Linked DNA regions of Homo sapiens: regions 2, 3, 4 and 5 are each linked to region 1. The links are contacts of gene promoters, found by promoter capture Hi-C in blood cells and fetal thymus (Javierre and others, 2016). All regions are on one chromosome and are shown on one strand. The core of a region is centred on a gene start or on the middle of the fragment in contact, and the rest is flanking DNA. Distances in the headings are between cores, read along the strand shown. Region 1 holds the start of NME1 (NME/NM23 nucleoside diphosphate kinase 1). Region 2 overlaps SPAG9 (sperm associated antigen 9). Region 3 overlaps UTP18 (UTP18 small subunit processome component). Region 4 overlaps SPAG9 (sperm associated antigen 9). Region 5 overlaps SPAG9 (sperm associated antigen 9).

What was found. Contacts are between HindIII fragments. The CHiCAGO score rates a contact against its expected background, and 5 or more counts as called.
Region 2: a contact is called between a fragment that was not itself captured here and the fragment with the promoter of NME1 in region 1, in 16 of 17 cell types (M2 macrophages, M1 macrophages, M0 macrophages and 13 more). The highest score is 26.4, in M2 macrophages.
Region 3: a contact is called between a fragment that was not itself captured here and the fragment with the promoter of NME1 in region 1, in 1 of 17 cell types (M1 macrophages). The highest score is 5.4, in M1 macrophages.
Region 4: a contact is called between a fragment that was not itself captured here and the fragment with the promoter of NME1 in region 1, in 4 of 17 cell types (M2 macrophages, M1 macrophages, M0 macrophages and 1 more). The highest score is 10.4, in M2 macrophages.
Region 5: a contact is called between a fragment that was not itself captured here and the fragment with the promoter of NME1 in region 1, in 5 of 17 cell types (M2 macrophages, M0 macrophages, monocytes and 2 more). The highest score is 11.9, in M2 macrophages.

What each region holds. Positions count from the first base shown.
Region 1 is chr17:51,149,816-51,155,893 of GRCh38, forward strand. It overlaps NME1 (NME/NM23 nucleoside diphosphate kinase 1), which reads left to right and starts at 3,744. Exons shown (of 5, transcript NM_000269.3): 1 at 3,744-3,847; 2 at 5,836-5,965. The coding sequence starts at 5,840. NME1-NME2 (NME1-NME2 readthrough) reads left to right here and starts at 3,744. Exons shown (of 9, transcript NR_037149.2): 1 at 3,744-3,847; 2 at 4,410-4,629; 3 at 5,836-5,965. RefSeq lists enhancers at 3,057-4,256, 3,280-3,811, 3,595-4,014, 5,411-5,942. The HindIII fragment of the contact is 18,411 bases long and covers 1-5,029 here.
Region 2 is chr17:51,039,162-51,045,239 of GRCh38, forward strand. SPAG9 (sperm associated antigen 9) reads right to left here. Exons shown (of 30, transcript NM_001130528.3): 5 at 2,340-2,490. Among named protein-coding and RNA genes, the nearest start is that of SPAG9, 79 kb to the right of the region's middle. The HindIII fragment of the contact is 585 bases long and covers 2,333-2,917 here.
Region 3 is chr17:51,270,286-51,276,363 of GRCh38, forward strand. UTP18 (UTP18 small subunit processome component) reads left to right here. Exons shown (of 14, transcript NM_016001.3): 5 at 3,077-3,165; 6 at 5,581-5,706. Among named protein-coding and RNA genes, the nearest start is that of UTP18, 13 kb to the left of the region's middle. The HindIII fragment of the contact is 370 bases long and covers 2,498-2,867 here.
Region 4 is chr17:51,058,705-51,064,782 of GRCh38, forward strand. All of the region lies in intron 2 of SPAG9 (sperm associated antigen 9), which reads right to left. Among named protein-coding and RNA genes, the nearest start is that of SPAG9, 59 kb to the right of the region's middle. The HindIII fragment of the contact is 578 bases long and covers 2,448-3,025 here.
Region 5 is chr17:51,076,841-51,082,918 of GRCh38, forward strand. It overlaps SPAG9 (sperm associated antigen 9), which reads right to left. Exons shown (of 30, transcript NM_001130528.3): 2 at 2,744-2,864. Among named protein-coding and RNA genes, the nearest start is that of SPAG9, 41 kb to the right of the region's middle. The HindIII fragment of the contact is 5,676 bases long and covers 691-6,078 here.

The DNA.
Region 1 (6,078 bases), core at 2,494-4,993:
CACCTCAGCCTCCCAAAGTGCTGGGATTACAGGCATGAGCCACCGTGCCCAGCCCTTGTGTCGATCTTCTATCTCATCCTGTGACTAAGAATGGCTAGCCTCCTGGGAATGCAGCCCAGTAGGTCTAAGCCTCTTTTTACCCAGCCCCTATTTAAGATGGAGTTGCTCTGGTTCGAAAGCCTCTGACAGTATCTTATTATACTGTGTAGGCTGGTCTTGAGCTCCTGGCTTCAAGAGATCCTCTTGCCTCAGCCTCCCAAAGTGGTGGGATTACAGGTGAGAGCCACCATACCTGGCCCTTTCCCTCATCTCTAATTCCTGGCAACCACTAAACTAGTCTATCCTCTATGTCTATACTTTTGTTATTAATATTTCACAAATGTTAAATGCAATAATACAATAGATAACTTTTTATGTTTGGCTTTTCTTCAGTCAGCATAATTCCCTTGAAATCTATCCAAGGGAATTATGTATATTGCATGTATTAATAGTTTGTTATTTTTTTCTATTGTTGAGTAGCATTCCACAGTATGGATGTAGCATAGTTTGTTTAACCATTCACATGATGAAAGACATTTGGGTTGTTTCCAGTTTTTGGTTATTACAAATAAAGCTGCAATGAACATTTGCGCACAGGTTTTTGTGTGAACAGAGCATAAGTTTTCATTCCTGTTGGATAAACGCCCAACAGTGCAATGGCTGGGTCATATGGTAAGCACATGTTTAGTTTTTTAAGAAACTATCGGCCGGGCGCGGTGGCTCACGCCTGTAATCCCAGCACTTTGGGAGGCCGAGACGGGCGGATCACGAGGTCAGGAGATCGAGACCATCCTGGCTAACACGGTGAAACCCCGTCTCTACTAAAAATACAAAAATTAGCCGGGCATGGTAGCGCGCCCCTGTAGTCCCAGCTACACGGGAGGCTGAGGCAGGAGAATGGCGTGAACCCGGGAGGCGGAGCTTGCAGTGAGTCGAGATCGCGCCACTGCACTCCAGCCTGGGCGACAGAGCGAAACTCCGTCTCAAAAAAAAAAAAAAAAAAAAAAAAAGAAACTATCAAACTTTTTCAGAGTGGCTGTACAATTTTATATTCCTACCAGTAATGTGGATCCAGTTTCTATACCTCCTTAATAGCGTTTGGTGTATCACTACTTTCATTTTAGCATTCTGATAGGCATGTAGTAATATCCGATTTTGGTTTTAGTTTGAATTTCCCTGGTGGCTAATGATGTTGAACATCTTTTCATGTGCTTTCTTGCCTCTGTATATCCTGTTCAATGAAATGTCTATTCATGTCTTTTGCCCATTTTCTAATTGGATTTTTTTAACCTGTTGAGCGTTCAGAGTTCTTCAAATATTCAAACCTTCAAATGAAGAGAAGGCCTTTATCTGATATGTGGTTTGGAAATATTTCCTTCCACTCTAGCTTGTTTTTTCGTCCTCTTCAAAAGGTCTTTCACAGGACAAAGGTTTTAAATTTCTTTTCTGCAGGGCACAGTGGCTCACGCCTATAATCCCAGCACTCTGTGAGGCCAAGGTGGGCGGATCACCTGAGGTCAGGAGTTTGAGACCAGCCTGGCCAACATGGTGAAACCCCGTCTCTACTAAAAATACAAAAATTAGCCGGGCGTGGTGGTGCACGCCTGTAGTCCCAGCTACTCGGGAGGCTGAGGCAGGAGAATCACTTGAACGTGGGAGGCAGAGGTTGCAGTGAGCTGAGATCCGCCAAGGCACTCCAGCCTGGGTGACAGAGCAAGACTGCATCTCAATAAATAAATAAACAAATAAATAAATAAAGGCCGAGCACGGTGGCTCATGCCTGTAATCCCTGCACTTTGGTAGGCCGAGGCAGATGGAACACTTGAGGTCAGGAGTTCGATACCAGCCTGGCCAGCATAGTGAAAACCCGTCTCTACTAAAAATACAAAAATTAGGGCCAGGCGCGGTGGCTCATGCCTGTAATCTCAGCACTTTGGGAGGCTGAGGCGGGCGGATCACGAGGTCAAGAGTTTGAGACCAACCTGGCCAACATGGTGAAACCCCGTCTCTCCTAAAAATACAAAAAGTAGCCGGGTGTGGTGGTGGGCACCTGTAATCCCAGCTGCTCGGGAGGCTGGGGCAGGAGATTCGCTTGAACCCGGGAGGCGGAGGTTGCAGTGAGCCGAGATCGCACCACTGCACTCCACCCTGGGCGACCTGGCAAGGCTCCGTCTCAAAAAAAAAAAAAAAAAAAGAAAAAGAAAATACCGGGCGTGGTGGCAGACGCCTGTAGTCCCAGCTACGCGGGAAGCTGAGTCACGAGAATCGCTTGAACCCGGATGGCGGAGTTTGCAATGAACCGACATCGTGCAACTGCGCTCCGGCCTGGGCGCCAAAGCGATACTCGGTCTCAAAAAGAAAAAAAAGAAAACAGGAGAATAATGAAATTTTACTTATTTATTTTATTTATTTTTTATTTTTTTGAGACCGAGTCTCGCTCTGTCACCCAGGCTGGAGTGCCCTGGCGCAATCTCGGCTCACTGCAACCTCTGCCTCCCGGGTTCAAGCGATTCTCCTGCCTCAGCCTCCCGAGTAGCTGGGACTACAGGCGCCTGCAACCACGCCCGGCTCATTTTTGTATGTTTAGTAGAGACGGGGTTTCACTATGTTGCCCGGGCTGGTCTCGAATTCCTGAGCTCAAGTGATCCTCCCGCCGCTGCTTTCCAGCGTGCTGGGATTACAGGCGTGAGCCACCGCGCTCGGCCAAAAGTTTTAAATTTCAGTAAGTTCCAATTTATCAACTTTTTCCCTGTATAGATTGGTCTTTTGGTGTCGTCTAAAAACTATTTGCCTGGCCCTAGGTCCTGAGGATTTTTTTTAACTTTTTTTTTCCCCATAAGTGATTTATTGTTTTACATTTAAATCTATGATTCATTTTGAGTAAATTTTGTATAAGGTGAGAGGTTTAGGTTGAGGTTCTTTGGGTCTATATTCGTCCAATTGCTCCAGCATCATTTGTTGAAACGGCTCCTGATTCCATTTTTGTACCTTTCCCCCGTTCATTTCCCCTTAGAGCAGTGGGAATGTTTTTTTGTTAGTGATGATGTCATGCCTTGTGCAAAATCTGTATTAGCATCTCACAACATAAGATTTGGCTCTATTCTAACGGCATTTTCCACCACTCGATGTCCACCGTAATACTTGGCTCTCGAAGAATCACTGGGCTGGCTCCCTCACTTCATGCAGGTCTATTCTATTATCACTTACTCAGAGATTTCTCTGGCCTTTTCTTCACAGCACTTACAAAATGCGATCTATTACATATTAATTTGCTTATTTGCTTCTTGTTTTCCTATACTCCCATCCCTCCCAGAAGCTCCAAGAGAGCATACTGTTTTATCCCTAGGGCCTAGAATAATGCGTCCACGTAGTAGGTACTCAAAATTTTTTGCTTGACAGGCTAGAAAAGGTGAATAAACACAAAGCGGGAGCGAAAAGTCTACTTCTAGGTCAGGCACTCTTTGGACTTCACGCAACGTGTGAGCGCCACCTCTCGGGAAGCCAATTTGCTCGCGAACGAAGGAAGTGAGTCAGAGAACCCGGGGGTGGAGAGAAGAAAGCAAGCAGCTAACCGGAAAGGTCTGAAAAAGCTAGCGCCGGAAGTTAAACTGCAGAAAGTTGTTCCCTAGAATGACTGCCTACTCCCAAGAGGAAGCGTGGGCGAGCGGTGTTCTGCAAAATGGGCTCTCCGGCAGCGGATCTGCGCAGAAGCGTTCCGTGCGTGCAAGTGCTGCGAACCACGTGGGTCCCGGGCGCGTTTCGGGTGCTGGCGGCTGCAGCCGGAGTTCAAACCTAAGCAGCTGGAAGGGTAAGAGGTGTTCGGGATCCTGAGAGGAAAAAGAAAGGAGTGTAGTCGCGGGAGTGGGTTAGGTGAGGAGTTAGTGAAGAGATGAGTTCAGCTCTAAGAGGCGGCGAGGAGGATCGGATGGGAGGAGGGGCAGGGAGCGCCTGTGGACAAGTGCAGACCGGTCGGCGCACGTCCCACGCCACGTGGACTCGCCTTTGTCGGTGGCCGCCTTTCTCGTCAGGCCGCGACGACAGGGCTGTGCCTTATTTGTGTCTGTCGAGAGCAGTGCCGGGCACGGAGTTGGCGCTCTGTAAGTGCTTGCTGAATAAATGACGGGTGTGTGTGTCATTCATTCAGCAAGCACTGAGTGCTTACTGTTGTGTCACCGGGACCGATGTGGAGGGACATTTTTAGGGTGTATTTCTGGCGCTTTAGTCCTGTTTTCTCCTGGACAATTTATGCTTGCCCCGCACCCCATCGTGCGATTCTCCGCAGTCTTTGGGCTTTGTCTCTCTCTCTTTTTTTTTTTTTGGAAGTTGCAGAATGGTGATAAATGATTTTCTTTGCTCCTATTGACTGCTAGGCCCTGTGGCTAGGTACCATAGAGTCTCTACACAGGACTAAGTCAGCCTGGTGTGCAGGGGAGGCAGACACACAAACAGAAAATTGGACTACAGTGCTAAGATGCTGTAAGAAGAGGTTAACTAAAGGACAGGAAGATGGGGCCAAGAGATGGTGCTACTGTCTACTTTAGGGATCGTCTTTCAAGGCGAGGGGCCTCCTATCTCAAGCTGTGATACAGGGTAGGTCATGAGCGCAGTCTTCTGTAAAATGAGGGATCTGGACGGAATAGTTACTCTCTAGGCTTCCTTTCAGTATGATGTCCCGTATCAGATATTCCTAATGTCTGTAGTTCTCCCACACCCCACCGTTTATTGGCTAGTCAAAATATTCTTTGCATTGTAAAGTGTAGCATAACATTACAAGAATGGATTAATGGGTTGGGAATGCTGGGTTTTGGCCTTCATTCTGGTGCTGTGGTCCTGTTTCCTCATTTGTAAAATGAAGGGGGTTGTAAAGATATATTCTCTAAAACCCCTAATGCTATGGCTGTGGCATTAAGTCAAACTATTATTTCTTACTGCTTTGTACCGGACATCACTTTCACATTAGTAAAACTTTTCATCAGTGTAGTTTCTCCCAAGCTTGATTATTGAGAAAGATAGTGCCTTGTTTTTAACATCCTGTATCCTAGTTCCACCGCAGTGTTTGGTACACAGTAGATGTTTAAAAGAAGCTTATTAAATCAAATGGTGGCCAGGCTCATGGGGCTCACGCCTTTAATCCCAGCACTTTGGGAGGCTGAGGTGGGCAGATTACTTGAGGTCAGGAGTTGGAGACCAGCCTGGCCAACATGGTGAAACCCCATCTCTAGTAAAAAAAAATACAGAAATTAGCTGGGTGTGGTGGCACGCACCTGTAGTCCCAGCTATTTAGGAGGTTGAGGTAGGAGAATTGCTTGCCTGGGAAGTGGAGGTTGCAGTGAGCCAAGGTCGCACCACTGCACTCCATCCTGGGCGAAAGAGCAAGACTCCATACCAAAAAAAAAAAAAAAAATCAAATGGGGCTGGGTGTGGTGGCTCATGGCCATAATCCCAGCACTTTGGTAGGCTGAGGTGGGCAGATCACTTGAGGACAAGAGTTCGAGACCAGCGTGGGCAACATAGCGAAACCCCATCTCTAAAAAAACCCCACAAAAACCAAAACAAATGAAAATAAAATAAATCAAATGGGATAGAAATTATAGTCCTTGCTTTTGGATCCTTTCCCACATTGACATATTAGTTCATAGATCAGGGGACTGGGGAGGAATTGGGTTTTTACCAGAGGGAGACCTGGAGCTGACCTGACAGATTTAAACCAGCTTTATGGGATAATCCGCTTGAGACGGATGACGCTGTAGGCAAGTGATTCACTGCTGTTTCATTCCTCTACCTGCCTATCCCCAGAACCATGGCCAACTGTGAGCGTACCTTCATTGCGATCAAACCAGATGGGGTCCAGCGGGGTCTTGTGGGAGAGATTATCAAGCGTTTTGAGCAGAAAGGATTCCGCCTTGTTGGTCTGAAATTCATGCAAGTAAGTGGACTTCATTGTTCCCATTTTGATTCCTTCATAGTATAGGAGAACACTGTGATTAACCTGTTTCTCCCCGTCTTTCTTATTTAAAGTTCTCCACGGTAGAGTGAACA
Region 2 (6,078 bases), core at 1,375-3,874, 110 kb before region 1:
AATTTACACCTTCCATTTTTTCATAATGAAGTCAAAACATGCCCTAAGATGGCTAGGTCATCCTCAATCTCAGGGGAAATGATATTTTAAATTAGAGTCTAGTCCAATTCCTGTTATACACAGAAACCAAAATGACAGGGCATGTGACATACCTGTGGCATAGCCCACAAGTGAATCCTAAACCCCTGACTTCCAGCCCTGGTAAAGTAGAAAGTTATCTAGTGAACGACAAGGGCTTAGGTGAAAAATAAAATACTGTACATCCCAACTAGTAACATGATTTACAAACTAGACTTTTGCCATTTTGTAAGCACCACCCCATTCCTGGAAATCCTTATTCATTGAGTCTTTATCTCATTCGGTGGCTCCAGTTCCAGACCAAGTAGAGAGAGACAGGGTTTTGTTTTAGAAACTCTCTGGTGAGTACCTGCCTTATACTAAGGCAAGTCCTCCTCTAGGGAGGACACGAGAAACTCCTCTGCTTAAGTCTATACTAATAATTTGTTAATCGGTTTATAAGTTGTCAATAAAGTTCTGGCATAGCCTATCAGTGGAGTAAAAAATAAAGAGAATTATAATAATCTCTTAAGGCGCACTTTTGGGTAGTATTAAAATATAGTTACCATATGGGATACTTTTTTTTGTACTAAAAGTATCCCTCCTACTTTTGTTTTGGGAAAGCACACACAGCAAGTAGGCAATTGAGAGATGAGTGTTTTGGAAAATCTATTAAACCTGCAGGAAGGCTAAAAGACCCATTGTGGTACAGAAGTAAAGAAAGAGAGAGTTGCAGCCAGGCGCAGTGGCTCACGCCTGTAATTCCAGCACTTTGGGAGGCTGAGGCGGGTGGATCACCTGAGGTCAGGAGTTCGAGGTCAGCCTGACCAACATGGTGAAACTCTGTCTCTATTAAAAATACAAAAATTAGCCAGGTGTGGTGGTGGGTGCTGTAATCCCAGCTACTTGGGAAGCTGAGACAGGAGAATTGCTTGAACCCAGGAGGAGGATGCAGTGAGCCAAGGTTGAAATGAGCTGAGATCTCACCACTGCACTCCAGCCTGAGCGACACAGCAAGACTCTGTCTCAAAAAAAAAAAAAAAAAAGTGAGAGCGAGCGAGTTGCCCAGTAACATCACTGTGGGCTAATACTGAGCACTATTAGCTTCTAACAAATTGGGGCAAGAAGGGAGAAAAGGTAAGGTAACCCCTATTGTTAAAAATGATTTTCAGTGGGAGAAAAGCTATCAAATATTTATCAACTGCTTACTGTTTTGAGCACATTTCAAAGGTCAATAGAATGATTCTGAATGCCTCTACATTCTAGAGTTGAGAGAAAGACCACTTATATTGTCCCCAAAGATTCCTTCTAACATCTAAAACAAATCATTCACTCAACAAACATGTTCTGAGTACCTATAATGTGCTAGGCACTTTTCCAAGTGCTGGGGGATACAGCAGTAAATAAACCTCATAGAATTTATGTTCTTAGGGAAGAGTCTAGAGGCAACTAAATACAGTAAATGACAGTATTTTAGAAGCATTGTTAAGAGCTATCTTTACATGCTTAGACCATGATAAGTATTATGGAGAAAAATAAAGCAGGAAAAGGAAATAAGATACATGTAACTCATTTCTACTCATTGCAGGTGGCCTGTTTCATGATGAGTTGATTTTATAAGGTAACAAAAGATCTTTTATAATCAATATGATGAATATTTCATTTTAAAAGATACAGAACTTCAAATATTCTTAAAAGTTAATTATTAGCTTATATCCACTCAGCATATATTATTGTTTATATTTATCACTTATTTGATGACAAGTTCTTGGTCAAGAACATATCTATAATTAATTTACACCACGCCTTTTTAGCTAAACATAATGCATTTTTGTAGACTGCTCTATGAAGCGGTTTTAAAGAAGGAACAGTGTGTTTGTTTTGTTTTGTTTTTCTGTAAGTGAAACCCTACTAAATTGGAAAGCCTCTAACATGAACCAAGACTTTCTGGTAATAGCGATTTTCAATTCTAATATAATTAGGTTCACTAGTTACCCTACTCTAAACTCATATAGCCTAAATCAAATAGAAATTAATTTTTGTCATTAGTATACTAATCAAGATGATATAATGCTTCACTTTTTTTCCTATATAATTTGAAATAAAATAGTAAAAAACACACTCTTTGGTAAGAGCTCATTTCCAATTTAAAAAACCAATTTTACAAACTAAATGTATACAAACAATTACATTTTACTATACTGTGGTCGTCTAGCACTTCAATTAGGATAAGAAAGTTTATGAAATATAAACTGACACAATTTCAGCAGCATAAAGCTTACCTTCAGGCTGGTATGAGAACGTGGTTGACTTAATTCCTGAAATTTCCATTGCTCAGATCCAGGGGTCTCTCCTCCTTTCTGAGCATCAGGTGTAAGCAATCCATCTCCAGCAGGTAATGGGAAAATTCCTAATGATATAGGGCGTTCTTTTCTATTTGAAGAGGGGAGAAAAAATTCGGCATTCATTTATTTTGACTTTTTATTTGCCATGACTATAAGTAATAAGCCTGGACTGCCACTGTTTTACAACCATCACTCAAAAATGACACTGTCTGCCCATCTGAATAAAACAGACTTACCAAAGAGGAAGGACAGTCTCAGTTTAGTTAGCCTCAGGAAATTAGCCTCAAGAAATCAACTAAGAAAAGTGGTAAGAAGGGTTAAGGAAATCTTAAAAGTTACTGACGAGTTCCTTGCCCAAGAAGCAGTCAGTGGTCTAGTGTGGTCTGGAGAAGAGCTGCTGCTGGGTTTTTAACCATACGTAGCTTAGCCCTAGGGAACTTGCAACCTCCTTCTTTGGAAGTGAATCCAACCCATTTCTTCCCAAATCCTCTCGCTAATCCCTGGATGTTTACTGAAGCTTCTTCAGGGTATGACTTTCCTGCCTAGAGGAAAATCAATATATTATCTAAATCAGGGCTACCTATTAAATGATGAAAAGAACTCAAAATATCTTTCTCCCCACCACCCAAGTAAGAAAGCTCTGTTTTTCTACAGAACCACTATATGAGTTCCTTTCAAGCACAGTACATATGAGAAAACCATTGTCGGTTTTTTCCAAATAAGAAGGTCAAATAATTCTATAAAAGATTACTGAATTTCCAATGCTTTGTGAGAAGTTTCAATGAACAAGAGTTACAATTTTAATACTAACAGAATTTCAACGAGAAACACATCCTTTGTTGATGCACACAAGATTCCAAATCGAAGAGCTTTTAGAGGGTGGAAACAAGCCTACTAACGGGTCATCCTGGGTCATTAACTCAAAAGTGTAGAAACTAGAAAGAAATGATACACTAAAGGTTTGGTGCCTCCTGGAATTCCTACCTCTACTGGTAAGAATGTAAGTTAGAATAAAAACAATGAGCTCATTAATTAAAGTGGGAAAATTTCAGTTTTGCTAAGTAAGTCTTTAATTCTGTAGTTCATTTTTATTCCAAGAAACTTCAGCCACTTTTGAAATGTGTCTTCACTTAATACAAAGGGTGTGTTCTTCCATTCCTAACAATCTAAAAGGACTAGTAAAACTATCCCAATGCCTTCTTAAAAATGAGGTGAAGCAAAGGGGTTGAGAGACTACATTTAGTCAAAGTTGTATGCACAAGGAAATAAAATTTAAAAACAGAACTTTGATTTAGGGGGAAAATTCAAAAGCAGGAAGGCAGTACAATAAGAGGGTAGTTTTTGTTTGTTTGTGTCTTGCTGTGTTGCCCAGACTGAAGTACAGTGGGACGATCTCGGCTCACTGCAAGCTCTGCCTCCCAGGTTCAAGCAATTCTCCTGCCTCAGCCTCCCAAGTAGCTGGGATTACAGGCATTACCACCACGTCTGGCTAATTTTTGTATTTGTAGTAGAGACAAGGTTTCACCATGTTGGCCAGGCTGGTCTTGAACTCCTGACCTCACATGATCTGCCTGCTTCGGCCTCCCAAAGTGCTAGGATTACAGGTGTGAGCCACCACACCTGGCCAAGAGGGTAAATTTTAACACCAAATCTAAGTTTGCGACTATGAGCTGCCGGGACAACCAAATGACAAAAATTAAAGTGACTAGTCAGCTACCATGTTTACACCAGTTATTCCCAAATGCTGTTCAGCAACAAAGTTTTTATAATAAGTCCATGAAAAAAGAGGCGTTATTTATTATTTCCTTAGTGCATAGATAATATAGTACCTATTGTACACATACACATTCCCATATACTATAGAACCCTGTTCTTTCTTGAAAATGACTGACCCTTATTTTAAATTACATCTTTTCTTCTTCTTTGATTTTAAAATGCCCTTTCTTTCATTAAATGATGGTGACAGTGATAAGTAGCTAGATTTCCTTTTCATATTCATTCTGGACAAAATAAAAAGTTGTCAATCTGATGTTTTCCCCCCATATTTTGTGAACCGAAAATCCAAGGGGACTAAGAGCTACTAGCTGACTTTTATTTATTTTCTAACATACCTTAATGAGTTAAGCAAAAGGTGACTGGGAATTTAATGACTGAATATAATGGAAAGCTCTCTAACTCAAAATGCAAAGACAACCAGGAAGATGATATACAGACTTCATAAGACTCCCTCACACTAATAGAAATCAAAATATAAGCCATTCATTTTCACACATAACAAATATTGAAAAAGTTTAAAACTATTGGGGGAGGGAGTCTTCTATGAATCCAAATTTTACTTTCCAAAAAGTAAACAAAATCAGTTGACAAAATCTACAATCAACAGTCAACAAAATCTACAACCCAAATTGCAAATAGAATTCCCACCTTTTTAATTTGCTTGTATCAATCATTCAGAAACTACTCTACAGGGAGGGGAGATCTCTTCAGAGACTGACAGCTATCTGTCAAGTGGGTCAATGATGCTCTAGGTTACAATGTTCCAACTCTGAAAAAATAATTACTACATACTCCTCCCCTTACTTTACTTACAAATTACATACAGTTGGGGTAAGGGAGAGAAGGACGCATAATTAGGCAAGTTCATGAGAATCCTACTTTTGAAAAGAAACCCTGAAAGGTAAACATTAGTCCAGTACTATGTTGGCATGCATTAAATGCTTCAAACTCACAGAAGAAGGAAAAAAATGAGATACACGTGGAAAACTATCAAGTGGCAGATTTATACCTGCAGACCAAAACATCTGCTATTACTTGTCTAGAAAACGAAGCTATCAACAACTATCAGAATTCTTTTTTCTTAATTGCCCTACTTCCATATATCCATTTTTGAGTTGGTTATTAAATGTTAGCTTATGTATATAAATAATTTTACAACTACATTTTTGGAACAGCTTTTTGGCTATATTCACATTTGATACAACTAATTAGTAAAATCTGCTTTATATATAAAGGCAGATAAAAGAAAAAGTACATTTGTTGAACACTCACCACGTGGTGGGTACTGAGCTAGATGACTTATTTACATTATCGCATTTAATCCTTATCAAGAAACAGGGATTATTTTTCCAATTTTTCAGAGTAGGAAAAGTGATGCTCAGAGATTTTAGGCACTAGTAATTGGCAGAGTTTCGATTCAAAGCCAGTACTGTTCAATTCCAAGCCCTTTGCTTTCCTTGGAACTTCCTACTTGGAACTACCAACTTTTTGACAATTTAATCTTAATATCAAAGACTTTGATATCTTTATTTAATCAGATCAGTAGCAATTTTTGTGGTAAAGAACTTTAAAATTTTAATTATAAGGTATTTTAGCTGTAGCTAAAACAATTTCTGCTAAAAATGGACACATATAAGTAACTGAAAATTATTTACTCAAGTAATTTACCATATATCTTACAACTATAATTAAATACAAAATAATAAAATCACTTGATTTTTAAAACCACCCAACGGGGTAAGTCCCATCAGGAGAGAAAACTCAGGCAGAGAGATTAAGCAACTTGCCAAAGCTCCTACGGCCACGTGCAATAGAGCATTTGCACCCAGGCAGTTCAATTCCAAAGCCTTGTTGTACCCACTTGCAGGCGCCGCACAGCAGCTCACGGCACTGCCCTCTC
Region 3 (6,078 bases), core at 1,433-3,932, 120 kb after region 1:
GGAAGCCTCTTTCCATGTTTGTTTTTTAATATGTTAAACATCCCTCGTTATTTTGACCATTTTTTTGGTGGCGTACTTCTAGACCCTAGATCACCAGTTTGCCCTCCTGGATGAAACATAATTTTATTATCCATTTCAGAATGCTGCATTTATAGAACCCCACAACATTTTAGATTCCTGTAATTTTGGGTATGGTTATGCTAGCTGTTGAAACAAAATCCCACAGATCCCAGTGGCATAATCCAATTGAAGTTGGTTTTTTCAGCACATAAAATTGGGGTGGTAGGAAGGTGATGGTTTACTTTAGGGACCCAAGTTTATAGAAGTTCTGTCATCTTCAGGTTGGTTCTTCCAGAGTTGCCTAAGATGTTGACATCCACTTGGCTTATAGGAGGAGAAAGAGGGGATTTTTATTGGCCTTTCCTGGAAATGGTACAGGATACTTTTGCCTACATTTTGTTGGCTGGAACTCAGTCATAAGGCCACACTAGCTGAGAGGATCCTAGGAAGTGTAGTTTGGCTTTGTGCACAGGAGAAAAAGGAAGTGGATTAAGTCAGCAATTAGTCTGCTACAGTATGGGATATGCTTGTCTAACACATTCATTTTGTACATGAGAGAGGTTCAAAGAGATAGTGACTTGTTGAAGGTATACTTATTGTTGACAGAATGGTGACTAGCACTCAGCTTCATGATTATCTCCAGTGTGTTATTTTTATCTGTAAATATTTACTGAGTTTCGTTATAAGAAAATTCTCCCTTTTGAACATAACCACAGCTCCAAAAATCAACAGCAATTCATTAATATTATGAATTGTTGTATTGTGTTGCTCTTTGTTTATCCCCTCTCCCTATCATTTTAGCTTGCTTTGTATTTTGCTTAGACTTCATAGTACTTTTGAACTGGCTTGATGTCTTCTGTAAGTTTTGGAAATTCTCACCTGTCTTCAAGTATTGTTTCTGTTCCAGTCTTCCTTTCTAGATTATTAGTAATACGTATATTAAATGTCTTCCACCTATTTTTTGGTTTGGTTTTTTTTTGAGACAGGGTCTCACTCTATCGCCCAGTCTGGAGTGCAGTGACGTGATCTTGGCTCACTGTAGTCTCGACCTCCTGGGTTCAAGCAATCCTCCCACCTCAGCCTCTGGAGTAGCTAGGACTACAGGCATGTGCCACCATGCCCAGCTAATGAAAAAAAAAATTTTTTTTTGTAGTGACAGGATCTTATTATGTTGCCCACATTGGTATTCAGTGTTTTTTATCCTTTTTCTTTCTGTACTTCAGTCTGGGTATATTTTTCTGATTCGTTTTCTAGACCACAAATTCTCTCTACAGCTAATTTTGATGTACTGTTAAAAACATCTATTGGAGGCTTAATTTAATTTTATTTGTTATTATTTTTTGAGTTAGTCTTGCTCTGTCGTGTAGGCTGGAGTGCAGTGGCACTACCTCCACTCACTGCGACCTCTGCCTCCTGAGTTCAAATGATTCTCCTGCCTCAGCCACCCAAGTAGCTGGGATTACAGGTGTGCACTACCATGCCTGGCTAATTTTTGTATTTTTAGTAGACACGGGGTTTCACCATTTTGGTCAGGCTGGTCTCGAACTCCTGACCTCAAGTGATCCACTTGCCTCGGCCTCCCAAAGTACTGGAATTACAGATATGAGCCACCATGCCTGGCCTATTGGGGGCTTACTTTTAATTACGTATTTTTCAGCTCTAGAATTTCTTTTTCAAATATTCTACATTTCTGGCTCAATTTTGAATCTTGTCTTTCATTCTTAAATATATTAAACATAGTTTTTTTTGTTGTTGTTGTTTGTGTTTTTTTGAGACAGAGTCTTATTCTGTTGCCCAGGCTGGAGTGCAGTGGCGCAATCTCAGCTCACTGCAACCTCTGCCTCCTGGGTTCAAGTGATTCTCTTGCTTCAGCCTCCCAAGTAGCTGGGATTACAGACATAAGCCATCATGCCCAGTTAATTTTTGTATTTTTAGTAGAGACGGGGTTTCTCCATGTTGGCCAGGTTGATCTCTGACTCCTGACCTCAGGTGATCCACTCACCTCGGCCTCGCAAAGTGCTGGGATTACAGATGTGAGCCACCGCGCCTGGCCTGAACATAGTATTTTTAAGGTTTGTGTCTGATAATTCCGTTGTTTAGATCCCTGTGGGGATTGTCTGTTTTTCCTTGTGGTTTTTAGTCAAGTTATCTTGTCAATATTTGCCTGGTTATATTTCATTGAGTGGTGGACATTGCATATGAAAAATAATGTAGATTAATTAGATCTAGGATGATGGTTTATATGTTTACTTCTAGGTAGGTAGCTTGGCAGAGGACACTAGTAATCCCAGAACGTTTTATTTTAATGAGGAATTGTGAAGCAGAATTTCAGTTTTGGGAAGATTTTCTTATAATTCTTTGATTTCGTCTTTAATCCTAGTGGTAGCCCTTTGTGGCCGCAATCCAAAATCTGGTGGCTTACCAGACCCTGTCAAGAAGCTTAGAGCTAGTTTTTCCCTTCTTAGCTCCGCAAGTGTTTTAAGTTTGCTCAGCTTCTTAGCTGTCTCCACTGGAATCATCAGTCATCTCCAGGGGGAAAAGCAGCCCTATTTGCTCTTTTTGAAGTTCTGATACATAGATTGCTGACATTGATCATTCAGCTAAAAGTTCTGGTTTTTATTCATGTGAGTTGTTAAACTAGATCAGTAGCCAACCTGTTGCCAATTTTGCCATAATTATGAGTTGCTCTTTTTAAATGAAATGCTGGCTTTAAACTTTTATTTCACTTCATCTTGTTTTAGTAACCATCTGTGTATGTGTTAGTCTTTCATTCTAGAGTTAAACTTTGATTTTAACTATGGATGTTAAGCTTTGTGTCATCTTTTTCTTCTCCTTTAAAATTTTTTTTTTTTTTTTCCTGTTTTGCTTTTGCCAGTTGCAGCTTTAAAAAAAGCAATTGAGGTAGGGAGGCTGGAAAGGGAGTTGATGTTGAAAATATATTCATAGAAGTTTGGGGTAGGTAAAAGGGGCAGCTCATTGATTCTAAAGATCAGCCTTCTGGGTTTGTTTGACTTAGATGAAAGTGAAGAGGATGAAGATGATTTGTTGCAAAGGACTGGGAATTTCATATCCACATCAACTTCTCTTCCAAGAGGAATCTTGAAGGTGAGAGTCAGTGAAGTTGGGGGATCCTATCTAACTACTTACCTCTGCAGTTTAATTTGCTTCCCAGTAGCAGATGTATGGATTCCTATTATCTGTGGGGTTAAATATGTTTGCTGTCATTTTGCCCTGGTAAATACTTATGTTATTGTTTTTTTTTTTTCCTTTTGCAAAAAATGTTCTAGAGGTATTATGTTCCTATTGCTTGAGCTCAGGAGTTTGAAGCTACGGTGAGCTGTGATGGAACCACTGTACTTTAGCCCGGGTGAAAGCGAGACCCTGTCTCTAAAATAATAAATAAATAAATAAATAAATAAATAAATAAATTTTCCAGTAATTCTAGGAATCCCGTTTGGTTTATCTTCATTTTCATTGGCATCAGCCTAGTTCATACTGCTGTCATCTCTTATCTGGCATATTGCAGTAGCTTTGTGACTGGACTCTTTACTTCTACTTTACCTCTTTTTAAATCATTCTTTGTATGGCAGCCAGAGGGATCTTTTAAAAATAAAACATCAGGTCATGTCACTTTTCATTGCTTTTTGAAAACTTCTGAATTCCTTATCGTATTCTACACTGCCCTTTACAGTCTGGCTTTTGCCTGGATCCTTAGCCTCATATCAGACCTGTTTCCCATGATTTCCCACTTGAGTCACACAAGCCTTTTTCTGTTTCTTGGACATGCTGCTAGGTCCTTTCTTGCCTGTGAACCTTTGCTCTTTCTCTTTTGTTCTGCCTGCCTTGTCTTCAGGAAGTCCTAATGGCTAGCTCATTCTTACCTTTCTGCTCAAATGGCACCTTAGACAAGACTTTCTCTAAAGTGGTCTACACTATTCACTTTCTAACTCATCACTATGTCTAGCATGTTCATTATGGTAACCAGCTGCCTATGTAGCACAGTACTTTAGTTAAATATCTGTCATACTAACGGGCAGTACTTTAGTTAAATATCTGTCATATTAACAGATCTCTCTGTGACATAGATATCTTTTGTTTGTTTGTTTGTTTTTTTGAGACAGAGTTTTGCTCTTTTGCTCAGGCTGGAGTGCAAGGGCGTGATCTCGGCTCACTGCAACCTCCGCCTCCCGGGTTCAAGCAATTCTCCTGCCTCAGCCACGCAAGTAGCTGGGATTACAGGCATGCACCACCATGCCTGGCTAATTTTTTTTTGTTTTTGTTTTTTTGGTAGAGACAGGGTTTCTCCATGTTAGTCAGGCTGGTCTCGAACTCCTGACCTCAGGTGATCTGCCCGCCTCAGCTCCCAACGTGCTGGGATTACAGGCGTGAGCCACCGCGCCCAGCGACATAGGTCTCTTTTCTTATTACACCATGGCAGGAGTATTTAAATGGGGCAGGGGAAACTATTATGATAAATTAGATACAGTGATTTTGTCTTGCACCTTATGAGGACAATTCATTTAGCTCTTTACGGGTGAATTCACCTCCATTAAAAATGTAGTTACCACATGGCCGGGCGCAGTGGCTCACGCCTGTAATCCCAGCACTTTGGGAGGCCGAGGCGGGCAGATCACCTGAGGTTGGGAGTTTGAGACCAGCGTGACCAACATGGGGAAACCTCATCTCTACTGAAAATACAAAATTAGCTGGGTGTGGTGGCACATGTCTGTAATCCCAGCTACTTGGGAGGCTGAGGCAGGAGAATCACTTGAACCCAACAGGCAGAGGTTGTGGTGAGTCGAGATTACGCCATTGCCCTCCAGCCTGGGCAACAAGAGTGAAACCCAGTCTCAAAAAAAAAAAAAAAAAGTTGTAGTTACCATAAAAATTTAACTTGGTGGTTACAAACAAAACACATACTTTTGTTTTTAACTGAATTTTAAAAATTCAAGGGGAAACCTGTAAAAACAAAATAAATAACAAAATAGTCCAGGTGATGGATGTGAGATTACCATTACTTTAAACTTGGAACCATGTACCCTAAGAGAATAAAGCAACCTGTGCCAATTGAAGAACTGTGGGGACAACTGTGCAGTGCCTCTTGCATTTGTGCCATGAATGCAAAGATGCCAGGTGCCAAAGTAGAAGTTTTAAGTGAAATTTCCTCAGAAGTGAAAGTCTCTTAACACAAATGGATGTATTTTGGGGAAATGACTACATACTAGTGCTCCAAGAATGAGTAATACATTCAGACTTCTAGATATGGAAAGCACTTTAATGATTTAATCTTTTTATTTGAAAGATGGTAAAAATGGATTCTTTTGTGGTAAAGTGACTTGCTAGTTGGTGCCAGAGCTGCGGTTTTTTTGTTTTTTGTTTTTTTTTTTTGAGTTGTGTTTGGTTACCATTCCAGTGCATTTTTTTCCTTCATTATAAACTGTAATGTCTTTTCTTCTTACTCTAAAGAAAATAATGTTTATTCATTTCAATTGATAAAATCCCAGCTTTCATTTCCTATAGATGAAGAACTGCCAGCATGCGAATGCTGAACGTCCTACTGTTGCTCGGATCTCATCTGTGCAGTTCCATCCCGGTGCACAGATTGTGATGGTTGCTGGATTAGATAATGCTGTATCACTATTTCAGGTATGCATCTTTATTTACTTATTTATTTCTAATGCATTATTTTTATTTAAGGACCAGACATTTGCAACCCCAAATGCAAAAATACTGAAAAAGATATTCATAGCTAAAACATCATAGCCCGAAGCATAGCTAAGTCTCACAGAAGTGACAGAGTTCATTTACTTGGAAATACAAAACAGAACATCCAGTCAGCATACTGCCCTTGCTTCTTGCTCCAAAGTCTGTCGTCACTGTTTTCAATCACAGCTGCTCACCCCTTGCCTGTTCACAGTTTGGGTCGCTCACCATCCCTTGCCCACTCACATTTTTATTGAATGCACCTGTATGACTTCAGTGTACAAGGAACCATAATAATAGGGGATTTGGAGTAAA
Region 4 (6,078 bases), core at 1,487-3,986, 92 kb before region 1:
TGCACATTAAAACCAAAATGCAACACCACCATGCTTCTGAATGGCTACAGTGAAAAACACAACACACCAAGTGCCAGTATGGATGTGGAACTACTGGAACTTTCATAAACTGTGGTGTATGGTTTCATACACCGTAACTTGGTATGCCCAATTTAAGAACTGTTTGGCAAGATTTAGTTAAGTTTCGAATGTTTGCCAACCCTATCACAAAACAATGTCATTGCTAGAAAGCCTATATATATGTCCACCCAAAGGTATTTAAAACAATGTTCAAAGAAGCACAATCTGAAAACAATCCAACTGTCCATCAAGAGTAGAATGGATAAATATTCATGTACTGGAATACTGTACAACGTGAATAAACAAATTATTGCCACACACAACATCATGGACCAATAGCACAAATATGATATTGAAGGAAAGAAGCAGAAACAAAAGAATACAAAATTCAAAGACATAACACAAAACTAATCTGAAATGTTACAAGTCAGGATAGTAGTTACCTCTGGGGAGGAGTCAGTGATCTGATGTATTTATGCCTGTATAGCCCCAGCCCACCTCAGTTCAAACACGATGTGCATCCATTCACACAGGCACTTTCCTCTGCTTGAATACTCATTCTTCCTTATGTTATCCTACAATGGCTATGAGTTCAACATGTAGAATGGGATTTAAACAAACTATTCAGAACCATAACAAACAAGCTTTATTGCTCTGACTGTAGCATTCTCAGGGAGAGAACAAAAATGTTACCGAATAGACTGGATAAAGAAAATTTGGTGGGTCACGCCTGTAATCCCAGCACTTTGAGAGCCGAGGTGGGCGGATCACAAGGTCAGAAGTTCGAGAACAGCCTGGCCAACATGGTGAAACCCCATCTCTACTAAAAATACAAAAACTAGCTGGGCGTGGTGGTGCATGCCTATAATTCCAGCTACTTGGGAGGCTGAGGCAGGAGAATCGCTTGAACCCAGGAGGCAGAGGTTGCAGTGAGGCAGAGGTTGCAGTGAGACAAGATTGCGCCACTGCAACTCCAGCCTGGCGACAGAGTGTGACTCCATCTCAAAAAACAAACAAACAAACAAACAAACAAACCAAAAACCAGAATCTCACCACTTTTACCACCTTCATCACTCTCACTTTGACCCAAGACATCATCTCTTGCTTAGGTTATTACAATAATAATCCTAGTCTCCTGACTAGTTTCTCTACTTAGTCTTTGTTCCCTACATTCTCAAAATAGAGATGGAATCAAACAGTGACTAACCGCTCAAAACTTCAAAGCTTCCGATCTCATTTTTAAAAGGAAAAAAAAATTCTTACAATGGTCTGTAAGACTTTTCTGGATCTGATTGTCAAGTCACAACACTCTTTGCTTCCCATCCCCACAGAGAACTCTTATCTCCTGACCTATTATGGACTGAATTGTGCTCCCTCACCCCCCAAATTCATAGGTTGAAGCTCTACCTCCCAATATGACTGCATTTGGGGGATAGGGCCTTTAAGAAGATAATTAAGGGCCGGGCGAGGTGGCTCACACCTGTAATCCCAGCACTTTGGGAGGCCGAGGCAGGTGGATTACCTGGGCAAGAGTTCGAGACCAGCCTGGCCAACATGGTGAAACCCTGTTTCTACTAAAAATACAAAAATTAGCCAGGCGTCATGGCAAATAGCAGTAATCCCAGCTACTCGGGAGGCTGAGGCAGGAGGATCGCTTGAATCTGGGAGATGGAGGTTGCCGTGAGCTGAGACTGTACCACTGCACTCCAGCCTCGGTGACAGAGCGGGACTTTGTCTTTTTAAAAAAAAAAAAAAAAAAAAAAGGCAGAAGAAGGTAGGTAATTAAGGTTGAATGAGGTCATTAAGGTGGGGCCCTGATCCAACAGGGCTGGTATCCTTATAACAGCAAGAGATAGGCAAAAGGCCATATTAGGACACAGAGGTAAAGCAGCCACCTGCAAGCCAAGGAGAAAGGCCTCAGGAGAAACCAAATCTGCTTGTACCATGGATCTCAGATTTCCAGCCTCCAGACTGTGAGAAATAAATTTCTGCTATTGAAGCCACCCAGTCTGTAATATTTTGTTATGGCGGCCCTAGCTGACTTATACCATTAAGCAAACCTCAGAGAAAAGGGTTTTTTTTGTTTTTTTTTTTTTTCCTTGAGACAGAGTCTCACTCTGTCCCCAGGCTGGAGTGCAATGGTGCGATCTCAGCTCACTGCAACCTCCACCTCCCTGGTTGAAGCGATTCTCCTGCCTCAGCCTCCCTGAGTAGCTGGGACTATAGGCGTGCACCACCACATCCAGCTAATTTTTGTATTTTTAGTAGAGATGGGGTTTCACCATGTTGGTCAGGATGGTCTCGATCTCCTGACCTCGTGATCCACCCACCTCGGCCTCCCAAAGTGCTAGGATTACAGGCGTAAGCCACCGCGCCCCACCGAGAGAAGCTTTTATATAAGATGTTTGTCAACTGACTTGGTCAGAGAGCTGGGTTTATACCTTACAGAACAAAACATTATAATGCCACAAAACAAAGTCAGGTCCTGACTGATTTTATGCCAGTTTCCTAATCAATTTGTTTGCATTGCTTTGTGTCAAATGTACACCACTTAATAGTGAGATTAGGCCAGGAGCGGTGGCTCAAACTTGTAATCCCAGCACTGTGGGAGGCCAAGGCGGGCTGATCACCTGAGGTCAGCAGTTCGAGACCAGCCTGGCCAACATGGTGAAACCCCTCTACTAATACTACAAAAATTAGCTGGGCATGGTGGTGCACGCCTGTAATCCTAGCTACTCAGAAGGCTGAGGCAGGAGAATCACTTTAACCTGGGAGGTGGAGGTTGCAGTGAGGTGAGATCACAACATTGCACTCTAGTCTGGGCAACAAGAGCGAAAGCTCTGTCTCCAAAAAAAAAAAAAAAAAAAAAAAAAGGCTTGTGGGAAGGAGACATATAACAGAATATACCATTAATTTTGGGAGATTTCCAATATTTATCTAAATGAATATGACCATTGTTCACATAAGCTTAGGTTCATCCATAAAAATTCCTTAAAGTTCTAGTAATCATTTTGTTCTCCTTAAGCATTTTGAATTATTTCTATCATTAATTCCTTCAGCCTCCATTCACAGCTTTCTAACCCATCAGGGTTACTTTTTGCTAAATTTACTTCCATTTGGCAACACAGTCTTACTTTCACCTCAGAAATAACATTTGATAAACTATCAATCCATTCTCTAACCATCTCTTTCAAAAGGTGAAATGGTTATATTTACTAATCTCATATAAATAATATACATACATATCTATATTTTTTTATTTAATAGCAACCATTTATCACAGAAAAAGGGCATTTAGCACATGCAAACTACCTGGAGTTACAGATGACTTGTCCCTTTTAATTTTTAATAGACTTTATTTTTAGAGCCGTTTTAGGGTCACAGCAAAATTGAATGAAAGTACAGAGAATTTCCATGTATTTGCAGCCCCCTACACACGCAACCTCCCCTACCATCAACATCCAGAATCAGAGTGGTATACCTTTTACAATCGATGAACCTACACTGACACATGCTTATCACCCAAAATATATCAATTACATTAGGGTACACTCGTGGTGTTGTATACTCTACAGCTTTTGACAAAAATATGACATGTGACCACCATTATAGTATCAAACAAAATAAGTTCACTGCCTTAAAAATCCTGTGCTCCACCTATTCATCCCTCCCTACCATCTCCCAAACCTTGGCAATCAATGATCTTTTTACTGTCTCCATAGTTTTGCCTTTTCCAGAATGTCACATAGTGGGAATCATATAGTACCTAGCCTTTTCAGATTGGCTTCTTTCACTTAGTAATATGCATTTGAGGTTACTCCATATCTTTTTTTTGTTTGTTTTTGAGACAGAGTCTTGCTCTTTCACCCAGGCTGGAGTGTAGTGGCATGATCTCAGCTCACTGCAACCTCCGCCTGCCAGGTTCGAGCAATTCTCGTGCCTCAGCCTTCTGAGTAGCTGGGACTACAGGCACCCACCACCATGCCTGGCTAATTTTTGTATTTTAGTAGACACAGGGTTTCGCCATGTTGGCCAGGCTGGTCTCGAACTCCTGACCTCAGGAGATCCACCTGCCTCCGCCTCTCAAAGTGCTGGGATTACAGGCGTGAGCCACCACACACAACCTACTCCACGTCTTTTCCTGGACAAACAGTTTATTTCTTTTTAGCACTGACTAATATTCCATTGTCTAGATTACCATAGTTTATGCCTGTTATTTTCATAAGAGCTAAAGGTCTTAAAATTACAGGTCTCAAACTTTTACTATCTCTTTCACACACAAAATTTCATGTTTTTAATGCACAAAAAGTGGTATTTTAAGATATTTTCAACTTACTGTTACATATTAGAAACTTGTATGCTGGCCGGGCACAGTGGCTCACGCCTGTAATCCCAGTACTTTGGGAAGCCGAGGCAGGCGTATCACCTGAGGTCAGGAGTTCAAGACCAGCCTGGCCAACATGGCGAAACCCCATCTCTACAAAAAATACAAAAAAATTTAGCTGGGCGTGGTGGTGCATGCCTGTAATCTCAGCTACTTGGGAGGCTGAGGCAGGAGGATCGTTTGAACCTGGGAGGTGGAGGTTGCAGTGAGCCAAGACTGTGCCACCGCACTCCAGCCTGGGCCACAGGGCGAGACTACATCTCAAAAAAAAAAAAAAAAATTGTATGCTGACCACGTCTATCTTTTCGCTAAGTTTTTGATACAAAATAAATCATAAAGTATACTTAAATTAACCTCTGTCTCAGCTTTTCATATAAATGTATTTTGTCTGTAACCTGTTAAATAACAGGAAAAATACTGAATTTTGCAACATCTAAAATAAAAGCAGGCCAGGGCCAGTTGTAGTGGCTCACACCTGTAATCCCAGCACTTTGGGAGACCAAGGTGGGTGGATCACCTGAGGTCAGGAGTTGGAGACCAGCCTGGCCAACATGGTGAAATCTCTTCTCTACTAAAAACAAAAATTAGCCAGGTGTGGTGGCACATGCCTGTAATCCCAGCTACTTGGGAGGCTGAGGCAGGAGAACTGCTTGAACCTGGGAGGTGGAGGTTGCAGTGAGCCAAGATCGTGCCACTGCACTCCAGCCTGGGCAACAGAGCCAGACTCCATCTCAAAAATAAATAAATAAATAAGTAAGTAAGTAAGTAAGTAAAAAATAATAATAAAATGGAATTTTAAAAAAATAAAATAAAAGCAGACAAAAAATAAAAGGGTTAAAATATCTACATAAATTAGACGTTAAGTATTATCCTCTAGCATAAGTATCATATCCACTTCCATCTTCCTCTCCACTCCAGTAGAGGAGTAAATGAGAGCCTGTTCACCTCAGTCTACTTACTTAAGGCCCTTAACTAATTCATTTATCTTTCCCATTAAAATTAAACAGAAGGTTTATCATTCTGCTTAGTTATATTCAGATGTGTCACTGATAGCTAATTATACAAATAAAACAAGATGACTAATATACTACCTACTCCTAGTAGGCAACCACAGCATTGTAAAGATGGTTCAAACATTAAGTTATCTACTTACCCATTTATGAGGAACTAAACAAGTCAAGATGCCAAGAGGAAACCCAAGGAATATCTTCCCAAAGTGGTTGTTCATTATACTCAGCTCTTCAAAACTGTATTACTACAGACTTTCAGATAGCAAAGTTAGAGTTTTGGTTGTTTCTAGCTCTAGCAGGATATATAGGCAATTGAAATGGGGGTGGAGGGTATCCCATAAAACAATATTATCCGGTTATGAAAAGGAAGGAAGTACTGACACATGCTACAACATGAATGAACCTTTATGCTAGGTGAAAGAAGCCAGTCACAAAAGACCATATATTGTATGATCCTATTATTATGAAATGTCCAGAACAGGCAAATCTATAGAGACAAAAATTAGATTAGTGGTTTTCAGGGACAAGGGGAAGCAGAAAAGCAGAAGTAAGTGTAACAGGTATGAGGGGGTGGTTCTTCTTGGGGTGATAAAAATGTTCTGGAATTAGTGGTGGCGATTGTAC
Region 5 (6,078 bases), core at 2,279-4,778, 73 kb before region 1:
TTTAGTGTTTGGTTCTAAAAGATTATATAATCCCTTCATGCTAGGCATAGTGGCTCATGTCTGAAATCCCAGCACTTTGAAGCCCAGAAGTGCGAGACCAGCCTGGGCAACATAATGAGATCTTGTCTCTATCTATCTATCTTATCTAGCTATCTAGCTATCTAGCTAGCTAGCTAGCTATCTAGCTATCTATCTAGCTATCTAGCTATCTAGCTAGCTATCTAGCTAGCTATCTAGCTATCTAGCTAGCTATCTATCTAGCTAGCTATCTAGCTATCTAGCTAGCTATCTATCTATTTCTTTGAGACAGTTTCACTCTTGTTGCCCAGGCCAAGTGTAGTGGTGTGATCTCGGCTCACTGCAACCTCCACCTCCCGGGGTCAAGCGATTCTCCTGTCTCAGCCTCCCGAGGAGCTGAGATTACAGGCAAGTGCCACCATGTCCGGCTAATTTTGTATTTTCAGTAGAGACGGGGTTCTCCATGTTGGTCAGGCTGGTCTCAAACTCCTGACCTCAGGTGATTCGCCCGCCTCGACCTCCCAAAGTGCTGGGATTACAGGTGTGACCCACCGTGCCTGGCCTTGTCTCTATTTAAAAAAAAGTACAATCAAATTAGGATTTAAACATTACCTCCAATAGTTAAATTTTCTTTCTTGAACAGAAAAGGTTCAACTCTTGAAATGTACCAAAAGCTTGCAATTGCCACAAGACCATTTCTCCAGATGAATAGTATTCATAGTAATGTGACTACAGTACTATATCTATTAGTGGATGCCCTGTGGAGTCCATCATGCAGTCCTCCGAGATTTCAAATTTTTTTATTCTTTTGAGACAGGGTCTCACTCTCTTACCCAGCCTGGAGTGTAGTGGTGCAATCTCAGCTCACTGCAACCTCCACCTCCCAAGCTCAAGTGATCCTCCCACCTCAGCCTCCCAAATAGCTAGGACTACGGGTGCGCACCATCATACCCAGCTAATTTTTGTATTTTTGGTAGAGACGGGGTTTCACCATGTTGCCCAGGCTGGTCTCGAAACCCTGAGTTCAAGCAATCTGCACGCCTCGGCAGCCTCCCAAAGTGCTGGGATTACAAGTGTGAATCACCGCGTCTGGCCTCGTTTTCTTAATTTTTTTATCATAAAGACAGGATCTCGCTATCTTGCTCAGGCTGGTCTCAAACTCCAAGGCTCAAGCAATCCTCCCACCTTCACCTCCCAAAGTGTTGGGATTACAGCCATGAGCCATCATACCCAGCAAACCTCAAATTTCTATGGTAGAAATCATAGAAGTCACTCAATGTATTCAATGGTAACAAAGGTATCCAACAACTCTGGGTATCCACAAGGCTAAAAACACAAAGCATGACACACGGCTCATTTTCTCTCGCTCAAGTTGGCTTCTGTTACCAAACATCCATTGGCCCTCTTCTAGGACATCTGCTTAATAGCCACTTGAGTTCTCCTTGAATTCTAGAATGCTTGAACTCCAGATTTCCAGTGGTTTTAATTTAGCTCTATTCCGTCTTTCCAGAGTACTAGAGAGAACAGTCAGTTCTCACACACGCCCCAAGAGTGCTGGCGAAGGCATTCCATCATGAATGGCTGTACCTTTATAGCTGGTGTCACTATGTAGCCTTCATGAGTAATGTGGATAGAGTAGCTGCCTGGCCATCCTTTGCTCCCTAGGATTCTGAAAGTTTACAATGCTGGGAGAAAAGCAGAGAATTGTCTGCCTACCTATATCAGACATGAAAATAGGCCATAAAGTTTCTCACCTTTTTTTTTTTCTAATTTTGACTTAATTAGGTCTGTTTTTATTAGCCAAAGGGGAAAATCATCCTTGAGGTTTGAAACAATAATTTTAAAAACCAAGAAAATATGAAATTATATTAAAAATAAAATGATTCTGAAAAATGAAGTTCTATTCCCCCCAAATGGCCCCATTTTTCCATTAAAAAAAGGAGCAAAAAAGAGGATTCAGTACTTTTTTTTCTCCAGTATCTAATTACATGCTTAGGTAATTTTTAAATACATACTTCAAAGCTGTAAGTTTACCTTACATTTTTACATTTCAAAGCAAAACAGAAAAAATGGAGCTTTGTGTACTTGATCAAAAATAGAGGAAATGATCCACACATACACACACACTTGCATAATGGTTAAAGCATAATGTTAACTACAAACAAAGGCTGAGATCTAAATTGAAGTGAGTCTGATCGATATATCTGGTTTAGTCAGTTCTGCACACATGGGTACCATGTGAAAATGTGAATAAAAAAGAACTAACCCTAGGTCCTAGGTCTCACTCTTGAGTCTGGGATGACAATTCCAAGTTTGTATTTAGAACCTTAGTCGAATTTCAGGATGAGTCATTGCACCATTAGAGCCAATTCCTTTTTTTTTTTTTCTGGGGGGTGGGGGGACACAGTTTCATTCTGTTGCTCAAGCTGGAGTGCAGTGGCACCATCTTGGCTCACTGCAGCCTCTGCCTCCCGGATTCAAATGGTTCTCGTGCCTCAGCCTCCTAAGTAGCTGGGATTACAGTCATGCACAACCATGCTCAGCTAATTTTTGTATTTTTAGTAGAGACGAGGTTTCACCATGTTGACCAGGCTGGTCTTGAACTCCTGAACCCAAGTGATCCTCCTACCTCGGCCTCCCAAAGTGCTGGGATTACAGGCGTGAGCCACCACGTCTGGCCAAGCCCAATCTTTAGTGTACTTATGAGAAGAAATGTTTTACTTACTCTGGTCAGCATAGTTTTTCGCTTTCAGCTCAAGTTGTCTTGTTTGAGATTCTAAAGATTCCACTCGGGTCTGTAAGTCCTTTTTTTCCTGTTCTTGAGAGTCTTCAAATTCAATGAATTTCTAATAAAGAAGAACAATATAAATTTAATCAGAGAAATTAAACTTTACATTTTCAACTCCTGTTATTTCTTGGAATCAATAATCACAATTAGGTATTAACTACTTAGATCTCAGAATTATGACCTTGGGTTGATTTTTAGTTTTTCTATAAAAATTAAGTTTAAAAAACTCCCAAATATAGAAGAAAAAAATAACAAAATAATTGTTTCCACTTCATGTTATAGGCATTCCATATGATATACATATCTTACTACAAATATATAAACCCTTTTGTATACTTGCATATGCATCTTGACTTCCAGACAACTTAAAAATCTATAACATGTACAATAGAGAACAAAAGAATGATGGAATAATCAATAAATATTTGTTAAATGGTTGTGTGATTAATAGTCATAGATTCACCTGAACCATGGAGTTTAAATTCCTAAGAAAAGGACATGTCCTAGGAATAACTCCACCACTCAAATCTAACTTACCAAACCTGTTCTCATCAAGGATAGTAACACTAAGTGCAATCATTAAATCTCAGTCTTCATCTTGATTGTTGTATCAGCAACATCTGACAAGTGATCCGCTCTCCTTAAAACTTTTTTTTTTTTTTTTTAATTTGGCTACCAGGATGTTTTCTTGTTTGCTGCTCGTTCTTGGTCTTCTTTGGTAGTACCTCCTTTTCTCCCCAACTTCTTAACATTGGCATGCTCCGTCCTTGGACACATCTTCTCTTCCTTGTTTACACTTATTCCCTAGTGATCGCGTCCAGTTTCATGGCGTTAAGTACGAACTATATGCTGACAACTTCTGAATTTCTATCTCTAGCCCAGACCTGAATTCCAGATTTGTATGTCCAACTGCCTACTAGAAAACTTCAATTGGATGTTTAAAAAGCATCTTAAGGCTGGGTGTGGTGGCTCACGCCTGTAATCCTAGCACTTTGCGAGGCTGAGGAGAGCAGATCACAAGGTCAGGAGTTCAAGACCAACCTGGCCAACATGCTGAAACCCTGTCTCCACTAAAAATACAAAAATTAGCTGGGCATGGTGGCACGTTCCTGTAATCCCAGCCACTTGGGAGGCTAAGGAAGGAGAGTTGCTTGAACCGGGACCCGGGAGGTGGAAGTTGCAGTGAGCCGAGATCGCACCACTGCACTCCAGCCTGGGCTACAGAGCAAGACTCTATCTCAAAAAAAAAAAAAAAAAAAAAAAAAAGCATCTTAAATTCTTAAATTTAGCATGTGAAAACTTGCTCCTCTCCTGGTCTTCTCTAGCTCATTAAATTACTGTGGTCAGTTACTCAGGACCAAAACTCTGGAGTCAGCTTTGACTCTTCTGTTTCTCTAGTACCTCACATATCCAATCCATCAGCAAATCTACCTTCAGATCTGACCGCTTTTCATCATTTCCACCACCATCCTGGTGTGTGCCACAATCATCTAATGCCTGGATTACTGCAACAGTGAAAGTCTCCTAATTAGTCTTCTTACTTCCACCCTAATCCTCTACAATATATTCTAGAGGATCTAGGAGGATTCTTTAAAAAGTCAGCCAGCCAGCCTGTCCAACATGGTGAAATTCGGTCTCTACTAAAAACACAAAAATTAGCTGGGCGTGGTGGCAGGCTCCTGTAATCCCAGTTACTGAGGAGGCTGAGGCAGGAGAATCGCTTGAACCCAGGAGACGGAGGTTACAGTAAGCTGAGATCACGCCACTAAACTCCAGCCTGGGCGACAGAACAAGACCCCCTCTCAAAAAAAAGCAGGCCAGGAGCAGTGACTCATGCCTGTAATCCCAGCACTTTGGGAGGCTGAGGCGAGCAGATCACCTGAGGTCAGGAGTTCGAGACCAGCCTGACCAACATGGAGAAACCCCGTCTCTACTAAAAATATAAAATTAGCTGGGTCTGGGGCGCATGCCTGTAATCCCAGCTATTTGGGAGGCTGAGGCAGGAGAATTGCTTGAACTCGGGAGGCAGAGGTTGCGGTGAGCTGAGATCACGCCATTGCACTCCAGCCTGAGCAACAAGAGCAAACCTCTGTCTCAAAAAAAAAAAAAGTAAAAACAATTTATCCTCTGCTTAAAACGCTCTAGTGGTTTAAATTCTTTACCATAGCCTCTAAGGATCTACACAACATGCTTCCACCATTCTCTTACTTCTTTGACATCATCCCCTACTTCTCTTCCTACCCTCTTCTCCTTCCCATTCTCTGATTCAAGCATCCATGCAGTTCCTCAAACACTTCAAGCCTCAGCACTTGCTTCCTACTACCTAGAATTCTCTTCTTCCAGATATCCAAACAGCTTGCTCTCTACTTACTTCCTTCACATCTTTGTTCAAATCTCACCTTCTTGGTGAAGGCTTCTTTGGCCAACCTATTTAAAACTGTGATACCAGGCCAGGCATGGTGGCTCACGCCTGTAATCCTAGCACTTTGGGAGGCCAAGACAGGTGGATCACTTAAGGTCAGGAGTTTGAGACCAGCCTGGCCAACATGGTGAAACCCCATCTCTACTAAATACAAAAATTAGCCAGGCATGGTGGTGCACGCCTGTAATCCCAGCTACTCGGGAGGCTGAGGCAGGAGAATTGCTTGAACCCAGGAGATGGAGGTTGCAGTCAGCCTAGATTGTGCCACTGCAGTGCATTCTGGCCTGGGCAACAGAGCAAGACTGTCTCAAAAAAAAAAAAAAAAAAAAAAAAAAACCTGTGATACCTACTCCCTATCTCTCCTCCCTGTTTATTTTCTTTAGAGTACTTAACCTCATCCAACATGCTATTTTAGTAATTAATGTTACTTATTACTTGTCTGTCCTCACTAGAATGTGGGTTCCATGAAGTCAGGGATTTTTGTTTTGTTCACTGCTGTATACCCAGTACAAAGAATGATGATAGCAGCACATAGCAGGTTCTCAAATATTTGTTAAACAAATGAATAAATGAAGAAAATTTTCCAAGTTAAAAAAACTGAAACCCTTATAGAAAAATTTATAATTCACAAAAAACTTAGGTATCACTACAATATATCCTAGTTTTAACATGAAATTGTCAGTCTATTACCTATATTAACTGTCCTCAAACTTTTCAATCACTGCAGAGGACATGGGTTTTTGTTTTTGTTTTTTTGTCTACACACATTACGTTCCTTTGGGGAACTTTCTCTCTCCAGTTTCATGCTAAGTATATTCAGTCCATGTAATTTGATTGGTGATGACCCCAA